Regions from separate parts of the Homo sapiens genome. Here region 1 is linked to region 2. The links are contacts of gene promoters, found by promoter capture Hi-C in blood cells and fetal thymus (Javierre and others, 2016). All regions are on one chromosome and are shown on one strand. Each heading gives the region's core, a stretch centred on a gene start or on the middle of the fragment in contact. The rest is flanking DNA. Distances are from core to core; before and after follow the strand shown. Region 1 holds the start of MPP4 (MAGUK p55 scaffold protein 4). Region 2 holds the start of NDUFB3 (NADH:ubiquinone oxidoreductase subunit B3).

Region 1 (4,375 bases), core at 976-3,475, 630 kb after region 2:
GTCAGAGCAGACAGATGAGGCTGACACTCAGGCTGACTCTTAAAATTGGTTCCCCTCCAGCACCTCACAAATCACACGTCCTTGGCAAAGCAGTGCAGATTAAACAAGCCAACTGTTGTTTGCACGTCATGAGGTGGACCACATTTCTGCCATATTTAATGCCCGAATGACTGTGCTGAGCTAGGCCTACCCATTCAGCAGTTGGGGGCACACACTAGAGACTACATATTTCTGAGATGAATTTATTGTGAGGGAGCTTTACAGATAGACTGTGCTTCACAGATAGGCGGTGGTTTCTTGAGTGAATGCAATGGTTAAAATAGCTTCTAATAAATCTAGAGCCAACTTCAGGGCTACCTAGATAACTAATTCATACATTCTAAAAGGCTCGTTTTGACCCAAAGTTTCTCAGCCATAGAGGCAAAAACAATAATTACAGTAATCTACAACTTATGCAAATTCTAAAAACTGTGCTTGGCTCCTCATCTTCAGGTTCCTATGACAAATTTATGGTGGACTGAATGTTGTGTCCCCACCCCCAATTCAGATGTTGAAGCCCTAATCCCCATTGTTGATGGCATTTGAAGATGGGGCCTTTGGGAGGTAACTGGGTTAAGGTCATGAGGTAGAGGCCTCAAGATGTCATTAGCGTCTGGGTAAGAGCCATCAGAGTTCATGTGTTCTCTCTCTCCCTGCCAGATGATGGCACAGTGAAAACGCGGCCATCTGAAAGCCAGGAAGAGAACCCTCGCAAGAACCCAACCATGCTGGCATCCCAATCTTCAACTTCCAGCCTCCAGAACTGTATGAGAAAATACATTTCTGTTGTTTAAGCCACTGTCTATGGTACTTTGTTATGACAGCCAAAGCTAAGACAAAACTCATAGAAAAAAACTTCCAGAAAATGATTTTCCCTCCCTCCAGGTAGCTAAGAAAACAGTTGCAACTTCTTGCCCTCATAGCACTTCTCATTTTCCCAGTTCTTGTATCCACTGGCTTGCTCAGTGTCTGTCTCCCGCAGGTGTCATGTCTGCAGAGGGCCTGGGGAGCAGAGATGTTGCTTATCTTGTTCATGCTGCAGCTTCACCTGCAACAGTGCTTGGGCCATAGCAAGCACTTGGTATGTTCAGTTGTTGTTGGGAAGGGGTAGAACAAGGAGAGGCCAAGATCCAGAAGTAAAAGGCTGATACCTCCCTCAAGGCAGTAGCCAGCAGCTGGGACTTCAATCCTAATGGGGGAGGCAGCTGAACTCCAGAGGCCTGTGCCCTCCCTTCCTTTCCTCCCTGGCCTGGTATCCTGACTTAAACCTCTTTCCCTATCAAACTTTAAAACTGGGGGCAGAAGCGGATCTTAGAGATAATCAAATGCAAAACCTTTGTTTTACAGATAAGGAATCTGACATTCAAGGAGGTATTCAGTAGAGTTAACATGTAGTAAAATCGAGTTTTCCTCTTTTGTTTCCTTAGTCCTGAAAGATGCTGATGCCTGGCATGATGCCTGGCAAAAGACTTACCTTCCTTTCCATGACTTCTGTACCAAATTTGTCAGTTGAAGCTTATCTATTTCTGCTATCTTGAGAGTGAGAATTCTTGATTGAGACTGCAAATAAGTAAGCACCCACCACATGCAATTCCGGACTGAGTACACAGAAAGGATAGCCAGTTCTTGACTCAGAAGATGCATTAGTGTGACTGATGCCTAAGGAATTTGTCCTAAATCTTGTTTTAAAAGTATTTCCATTAGCTTTTTAAAACGTACTATTAAATGCCACAACCCCCTACCCTTACTATGCTTGTTTTTCAAAATAGTGCTTTTTACTAGACAAACCCTAAAAAAGCACTTGGAAACTTAATGATGAGAAATGGCCCTTACAAAAATAGCTGGCTTCCTCTGGGTCCAAATGCTGTTGATTAGGACCAGGGCAAATGCCCATTGTACTCAATCTTCCTGACAACTCATTATTCCATACTGAAGAAATGGCTTCTCGAAGCAAAACCTGCTCTTTCAAGATCATAAAATTCCCCATATCATTTGAGTTAAAATGAAACTAAGCCATTTGAGTTAGATTACCCAGATTTATATCTTTAGCTATTAAAAACTGACAGGCAAGCTAGGCAGTTATGGATACATCTTCTGGTAACTGAGGATTATTTGCCAAGGTCTCTTACCTGCAAGACTGTAAACATGCATGTTGCTCCTATCCAGACAAAAGCTTTAGTAGGATACTAGTGGCCTGTTAGCTGCCAAAGTCACCTCACTGCTCCCGATAAAATCTCTGCACATCCTCTTTGATGTAATCCACAGATGCCTAACCCAGCCTAACAACTAAATTACTCACAAGCCTTTCCTGCCACAAATCTTCTTAAGTATTCCTTGAAGTCTAATTTGTATCATTTTCAAACCTACATTCTAGTATTTTCTCTCAAATTGCCAACACATAGTTAACGGCAGAAAAACATAGTATTTTTGTTGATTAGTTCAAGATGACAGACATTCCACAACAGAAGATAGCATTTTTAATGAAAGAAAAAAATGTGGCAGGACCGGAAATAAGCCAATAACCTACTAACCTTATTAAATCTCTCATGTTATGGTGAGAAAACAACTGAAGACTGTTCAGCTAATAATAGAAACCCATCAAAAACAGTACCTTCTGGTCAATCCCCTCCCAAGCCACTGTTCTGAACCTAACAAATAGTGCTTTCTGTCTCAGATAGGAGCTACTTCTTTATCTGAAAACTTAATACTGCAGGGAGTGCTCAGTGGGGAGAGCATTTGGAAGGGGATATTGCAGAAAGGAGAGGAAGGTATTGCTGACAGCAAGGCAAAAGGTAGAGACCAAATGGCAATTATCAGAGGGTCCTCAGCCCTTCTACCCATATTAATCACATGGCTTTCCTTATCTCTCCATCATAGATGAAAACACAAGTTGGGAATGTGATACATTTGTGTTTTGAGTACAGCATATTTTGTGAAAAGCACTTGATTTCAATAAGATTTTCATTTTTAACTCACTTTTAAGAACTTTCAATACATAACCAGCTATGAAATGACATCTCTGGCAGCTGTAGTAGCAAAAAGCACTGGACTTCTAGGGAAGTAGGGAGTAGGGAAGTTCTAGGCTGGAGTCCCAGCTCTGGCAGTGAGCAAATCTTGGTCACTGCTTGTCTGAAAAATGGGGGGAAATGGGGATAACACCTGCATCCTTGGGCTGCTGTAAGCATTCATTACGCATGTGAATGACCATTGTAAACTGCTGCAGGAGTGCCAAGGACTTCTATTTACAAACATTGGCCTGGAGATTTAGGGTTTTTCTTCCAATACACTTCAAAATTTATAACTTTAATATGCTATCTGAAAAGCATATAGTAGGAAGAATCCAAAGTAACTGAACAGTTTCATTCAAGACTCCAGTAAAAGGACGAATTGTAACATGGCTTTTCTTAGAACAGAGACAGCCTATCATCATTGGAAATCTTCTCAATGGGTCAATTTGTCTCAAAGTTTTTGTTTGTCCATTTCCACATATTATCCACCCCCGCCCAGAGTCAGAAATTCTGTAAATTTGGCTTTACCAGGCAAATGTGGTTATTTATGTGTTTGTTCAGAAACTCAAAACAATCTCCAATGTAAATGCAAAGTATTTAACATAAACGGATTTTTAAGGGTTGGTCCCCTTCCAACAGAGGACAGGCACATTCTGGTAGAGGCAGCAACAAGATGGAAAGGCCTCTTGAGAAAACATTACAACTGGGAGATAATTAATATCTAACGTTTCTAAGCAGAATTTTAAAGCCTCACCTTCCCTTCCCTCGATCTGTTTAGGAGGAAAAAAAATAACGAGTAACTATCAAAATATGCTTTTTATTCAAAGAAATAATAGATTTCTTTGGAGACCCGTGTCCTTGGGTTATTGGGGTCAGAAAGTTAATTTGCTCTTTGCTAGAAAGGGTGCTATAACTATTGGTTTACGTTTATTTTAAAGACAGAGATTTCTAAAACCCCAGAGGGACTTTTGAGGCCAATACTTAGAGGCATGGATTACAATGTGGGCTAAAGAAATACTAAGTCTGGGTTTCCTTTCATCTTTTAGGCTGCCCTGTTCATTTCTTCTACAATCATAAAACAACCACATAAAGATGAATGCCTTTTATTATGAAAATTGCTGTTACATTACAGCCAACATTCCAAAACAGTATTTTAATAAACACTTGTCTTGATTATAAAGTAGAGCAAAAACCATGATCCTTTTTCAAAAGTAATTAACATCTTCTCAGTCACTTAACACAAATCAGGACACTCTGTATGCTCACCACGGTGTAGGAGATGAGATGAGGAAGAGCACCTATGTTATTCAAAACAGCTACTAGTGTTA
Region 2 (4,311 bases), core at 1,720-4,219:
TACAAAGTACTGGTATGATAACTAGTTTTGAAACTTCTGCCCATATTTTATCAGTTTTTCACTATGTAGCATTGGTTTTTCTATAAGACTCAGTCAAGCTGAAAATTTCAATCATTCTAGAACTTAATAAACTACTACAAGATGCCAAAACTGTATTGCAAATAATCAAACTTAAATCTGAATTGCATGTCAAGACAGTTAAAGGGCCGGGCTAAAAAACACACTTTCAAGGTCTATTTTAGGGCAAACAATTAAACTCCTTTACAATCATTGTTTCAAATTCCTTATAAACAGCTCCAATACTGAAATGTTTCATCAGAGAGAACTTCTATAACGTATAAACGATCATCTAACCACACTATATGCTAATTTGGACTAGTGTTTCTTTAGCTACTTGGTAATTTCCTACTCGATACTCAACTTACTGCATTCTACAATGACACCTACTGGCCATTCAAAATCAGCCATTAGTTCTCTAAGACAGCTCTAGTAGGCTGGTTACATAAGAAGAAACACACACACACACACACACACACACACACACACACACACACACACGCATAAAAGCAACACACACACACACACGCATAAAAGCAAAGATTTAACTGGTACTCAAAACACTACAGAATTCCACCTAAAATAGAACCAGAAATTTTCTTTGTGACTGAGATTGCATTATTCTTGGAAAAGGAGAAAAGACAAAGAACAAAACACCAAACATCAATAAAAATTTTTATCTAAAGCACTGACAAATGTCTCAGTACTGAGAACATCTGGGAACAAACAACTTTAATGATGCACCTCTTTCCCAATTAAATTTTTGAGAAAAAATGAAATTTTGATTTAGGTTCATATATAGGAATATAAATTACCATTAATAGAAAAAAATCACATCTTATAAAGTTTTTCTGACATGCAGTACCGAAATAAATTTAGGAAAATTGTAGAGTTGCTGACACTACATTAGACCTTATCTCCTAAGCTAAAGGCAATATTTCAAACACCTTACATTTTAGAAATTTATAACACTTCTTTTAAAATCATTTTCCAGTGCTGCTCTCAAAATTGTTTTTCAATGACCTACAAAATCAAGTTTTTATGTCGTTTGCCCTTCCATAACACATACTGAATAGAATTCCTATTTTAATTCTACATTTTATTGTGGAAACAATGAATTATAAAATTTTTTTAAATAAGATAATTTAGTTAATTATATCTATAAATATATTTTGCCTCTGTCCGAGAGGTTCAGAGTCCACTTTTTAAACCTAATAAATAATTCATAAGTAGCTTCTCAGACTTGCTTACAGAACAAACTACTTAAAAGTTGACTTTTTTCTGCCGGGCACGGTGGCTCACGCCTGTAATCCCAGCACTTTGGGAGGCCGAGGCGGGCGGATCATCTGACGTCCGGAGTTCGAGACCAGCCTGACCAACATGGAGAAACCCCGTATCTACTAAAAATACAAAATTAGTCGGGCGTGGTGGCGCATGCCTGTAATCCCAGCTACTCCGGAGGCTGGGGCAGGAGAATGGCTTGAACCCGGGAGGCGAAGGTTGCTGTGAGCCGAGATCGCGCCATTGCACTCCAGCCTGGGCAACAACAGCGAAACTCCGTCTCAAAAAAAAAAAAAGTTTATTTTTTTCCCCATATTCAGACCACCACCTTATTTGCACAGTCCCTAACTTCCACAATATCCTGGGGGGAGGAAGGGATCTACCAACTAATTTTCTAGTCATTTTCCAACTTACACTGAGCTCCTACTGTACATTTTTAAAGGATTCCCCACTTTTCTGAAGATCTTTAAAAAATGTTGTCAGCCTTGACCCTCAAATAAATTCACGAACTACAAAACATGAACCTGGCCACATTCATCGCAAACTAGTATCTGTCAAGTCCATAATTGGGATAAGCTCTTCGTGACTACTCTATCCTCCATGCTACCACCCTTCGCCTAGAGAACCTGCCAATGTAAATGGCACTCAAGCCAATGAAAAAAGTGTTCTAACACATTAATAGGTTGCAAGACCTCCTCTCCCAGGAGGGACAACCTAGTTGTTTGGGTAAATAACAGCCAAAGATTACATAATGTACAGCAATAATGAGTGTTCAGAATCTGACCGCCAGTAAATATTTTTCTTCTCCGCTCCCCCTCACCACCCCCAGGAAATGGCCCTAAGAAGCAATCACTGGGATTTCTCTTAACTGTCTTCAATGCCGTGTCCTTTTCTCGCCTGGGGCTTTGTGCAAAGAATCCCTTCAGCCCTCACGACACCGCCTTGCTCCCGCCTCTCCTCCCTCTCTGCTGGCGCCACCGCAGCCCCCACGCCCTAGGTGGGCCCCCACGTCGCCCCACAAGGCTCGGCTTCCACCCGCCTCGGCTGCCGCCTTCTCCTCCTCACGACCCTCCCAAGATGCTACCTGGTTTACGAGAGGTTCCGGGACCACCAACACACCGGCTACCGCCTTTCCAGACCACCCTCGCCAGCTCCCGTCTGTAGTTTCCGCGGCCGAAGGAGAAGAAAACCCCTCTTCATCTAGCACTTTGCCTCCCCCAAAGACAGCACCGCCGCCTACCTGTCACCCTGCTGTCTCCGGCTTCCTACCGCCGCCGCCTCCCGCAGCAGCCTGCCAACTGCAGCGCAACAACCAACCCTCTCATTGGGTGAGAACACGCTCTCAACAACAGCCTCCCTTATTGGCTGCAGTATGCCGGCAGCCCCGCCCTGTGTGCGGTGTCTAAGGATTCCGTCCCCAAGCAAGGACAACATATTATCTTCCCCGCCCTTCTCTTTTCTACAGTATCTGTTACCTCAGTCAGATTGAGGATGCACATATACTGGGAAAATAATCGACTTCCAGCGTCCCTCATGTAGTCTCTACCTGATTCAGGAATCTCTAACCCAGTATCGGAACGTTAAGCGGCTTCTCCGCTTTCCTGCCGTGAGAAACTCGAGGTGACAACCTCCGTTTCCGGTTGGCTCCGGTTGCAGAGTTGAGTGTCCTGAGAGGTCAGATTGCTGTCAGGTAAATTAGGGAGTTGGTGGGAGGCCCGTTGATTAGGATTAAGAGCTAGACTCTATTCTGGGGAGTGCAGAAAAGGAGAGACTAAATGGAGAAGGATGGGAGGCTGGGAGGGAGATCAAAGAACTAGCAGGCGAGAACTAATGAAGTCCTAGTTTAGAGTTGGGGTAGGAAGAGGTGGTTGGAGGATTCAGTGATCATTACTGTAGTTGTTAAATCCAGGTGCTTGTTCCCGCTTCTGCCACACGCAAAATTGTCTTTGTTTGCCTTTGGATCGCAAAGGCAGAAGAACAGCATCACTAAAAGTAATAACAGTTCATTTGTTTTTTATGTTCTAATATTCATATAATCACAGTTTTTAATACGAGGAAGTTAAGATATATACTTGATAGTCTTCGGTAAACTAAAATTGCATGTAGTGGAAGTAGCATTATCTTCTTATTTCTTTCTTAGGGAAAGGATACCAGCACATTTTCTTAGAGCCAGCTTCCTTTAGTGGAGGTTGATCTTCATGAGACTTTTAGATTCACTTCAGACATAGATAGCTTTTAAAATTTTTGGTTGCATGTTTTTTCTTTATTTAACTAATTTCCTTACTGTTATTATTTGAGCTGCTCTGAAACGGAAATAACCACCATTTTTCAGTCCTCAGCACAATTTAAGTCAATTTTTCTATTTTTATTTTTTATTGTCAAGTATATATACAGAAGGGTGTATAAAACATACATTTTAAAAAATTATAACTAACAGAAGCAGACACTCCTGTATCCACCTCTTAGATTAGAAAATAAAGCATTGCCAATAACTTAGAACATGCAGTCTTAACAGGGGTGATTTTACATTTCAAGGGGTTGAAAATTGGTGGGGCCGGGGTCGGAATCTTAGTTACTACAATGATTTGTGTCCCTCCAAAGGGCCACAGTATATAAACAGTTATACAGTATATATGTAGTGTTAAATTTTCATGGCGGGGGGTGTGATTAGGAATAAAATGTCTAGAAAGGTTCCTTACAGGGACAATAGTTAAAAATTGGTTGAAAAACACTGCCTTAGAATCTCCCAGTATGTTTCTGTGATTCCATCTCCTCCACCAAGAGGTAACCATTATCCTGACTTGTGCTAAGCACTCACTTGTTTTACTTTAATTTTTCCGTCTATGATGAATTCCTAAAAAATGAATTGTTAGGCATTTCAATCTATATAAATGGGTTCAGAGTGCATGTGTATTTTTTTCTGACTCACCCCTTGCTCATTATCCATATTTGTGGAGATTCAATCACACTTTT

Evidence for each region. Contacts are between HindIII fragments. The CHiCAGO score rates a contact against its expected background, and 5 or more counts as called.
Region 1: the fragment with the promoter of MPP4 here is called in contact with the fragment with the promoter of NDUFB3 in region 2 in 5 of 17 cell types (total CD4 T cells, non-activated CD4 T cells, fetal thymus and 2 more); the score reaches 11.9 in total CD4 T cells.

Annotation. Positions count from the first base shown.
Region 1 is chr2:201,696,419-201,700,793 of GRCh38, forward strand. MPP4 (MAGUK p55 scaffold protein 4) reads right to left here and starts at 2,226. Exons shown (of 22, transcript NM_033066.3): 1 at 2,169-2,226. It overlaps ALS2 (alsin Rho guanine nucleotide exchange factor ALS2), which reads right to left. Exons shown (of 34, transcript NM_020919.4): 34 at 3,849-4,375. RefSeq lists enhancers at 2,856-3,357, 3,358-3,857. The HindIII fragment of the contact is 2,266 bases long and covers 2,211-4,375 here.
Region 2 is chr2:201,069,032-201,073,342 of GRCh38, forward strand. NDUFB3 (NADH:ubiquinone oxidoreductase subunit B3) reads left to right here and starts at 2,970. Exons shown (of 3, transcript NM_002491.3): 1 at 2,970-3,028. HYCC2 (hyccin PI4KA lipid kinase complex subunit 2) reads right to left here and starts at 2,640. Exons shown (of 13, transcript NM_001321623.1): 1 at 2,579-2,640. RefSeq lists enhancers at 2,113-2,252, 2,243-2,868, 2,353-2,622, 2,643-2,732, 2,869-3,492. The HindIII fragment of the contact is 13,158 bases long and covers 1-4,311 here.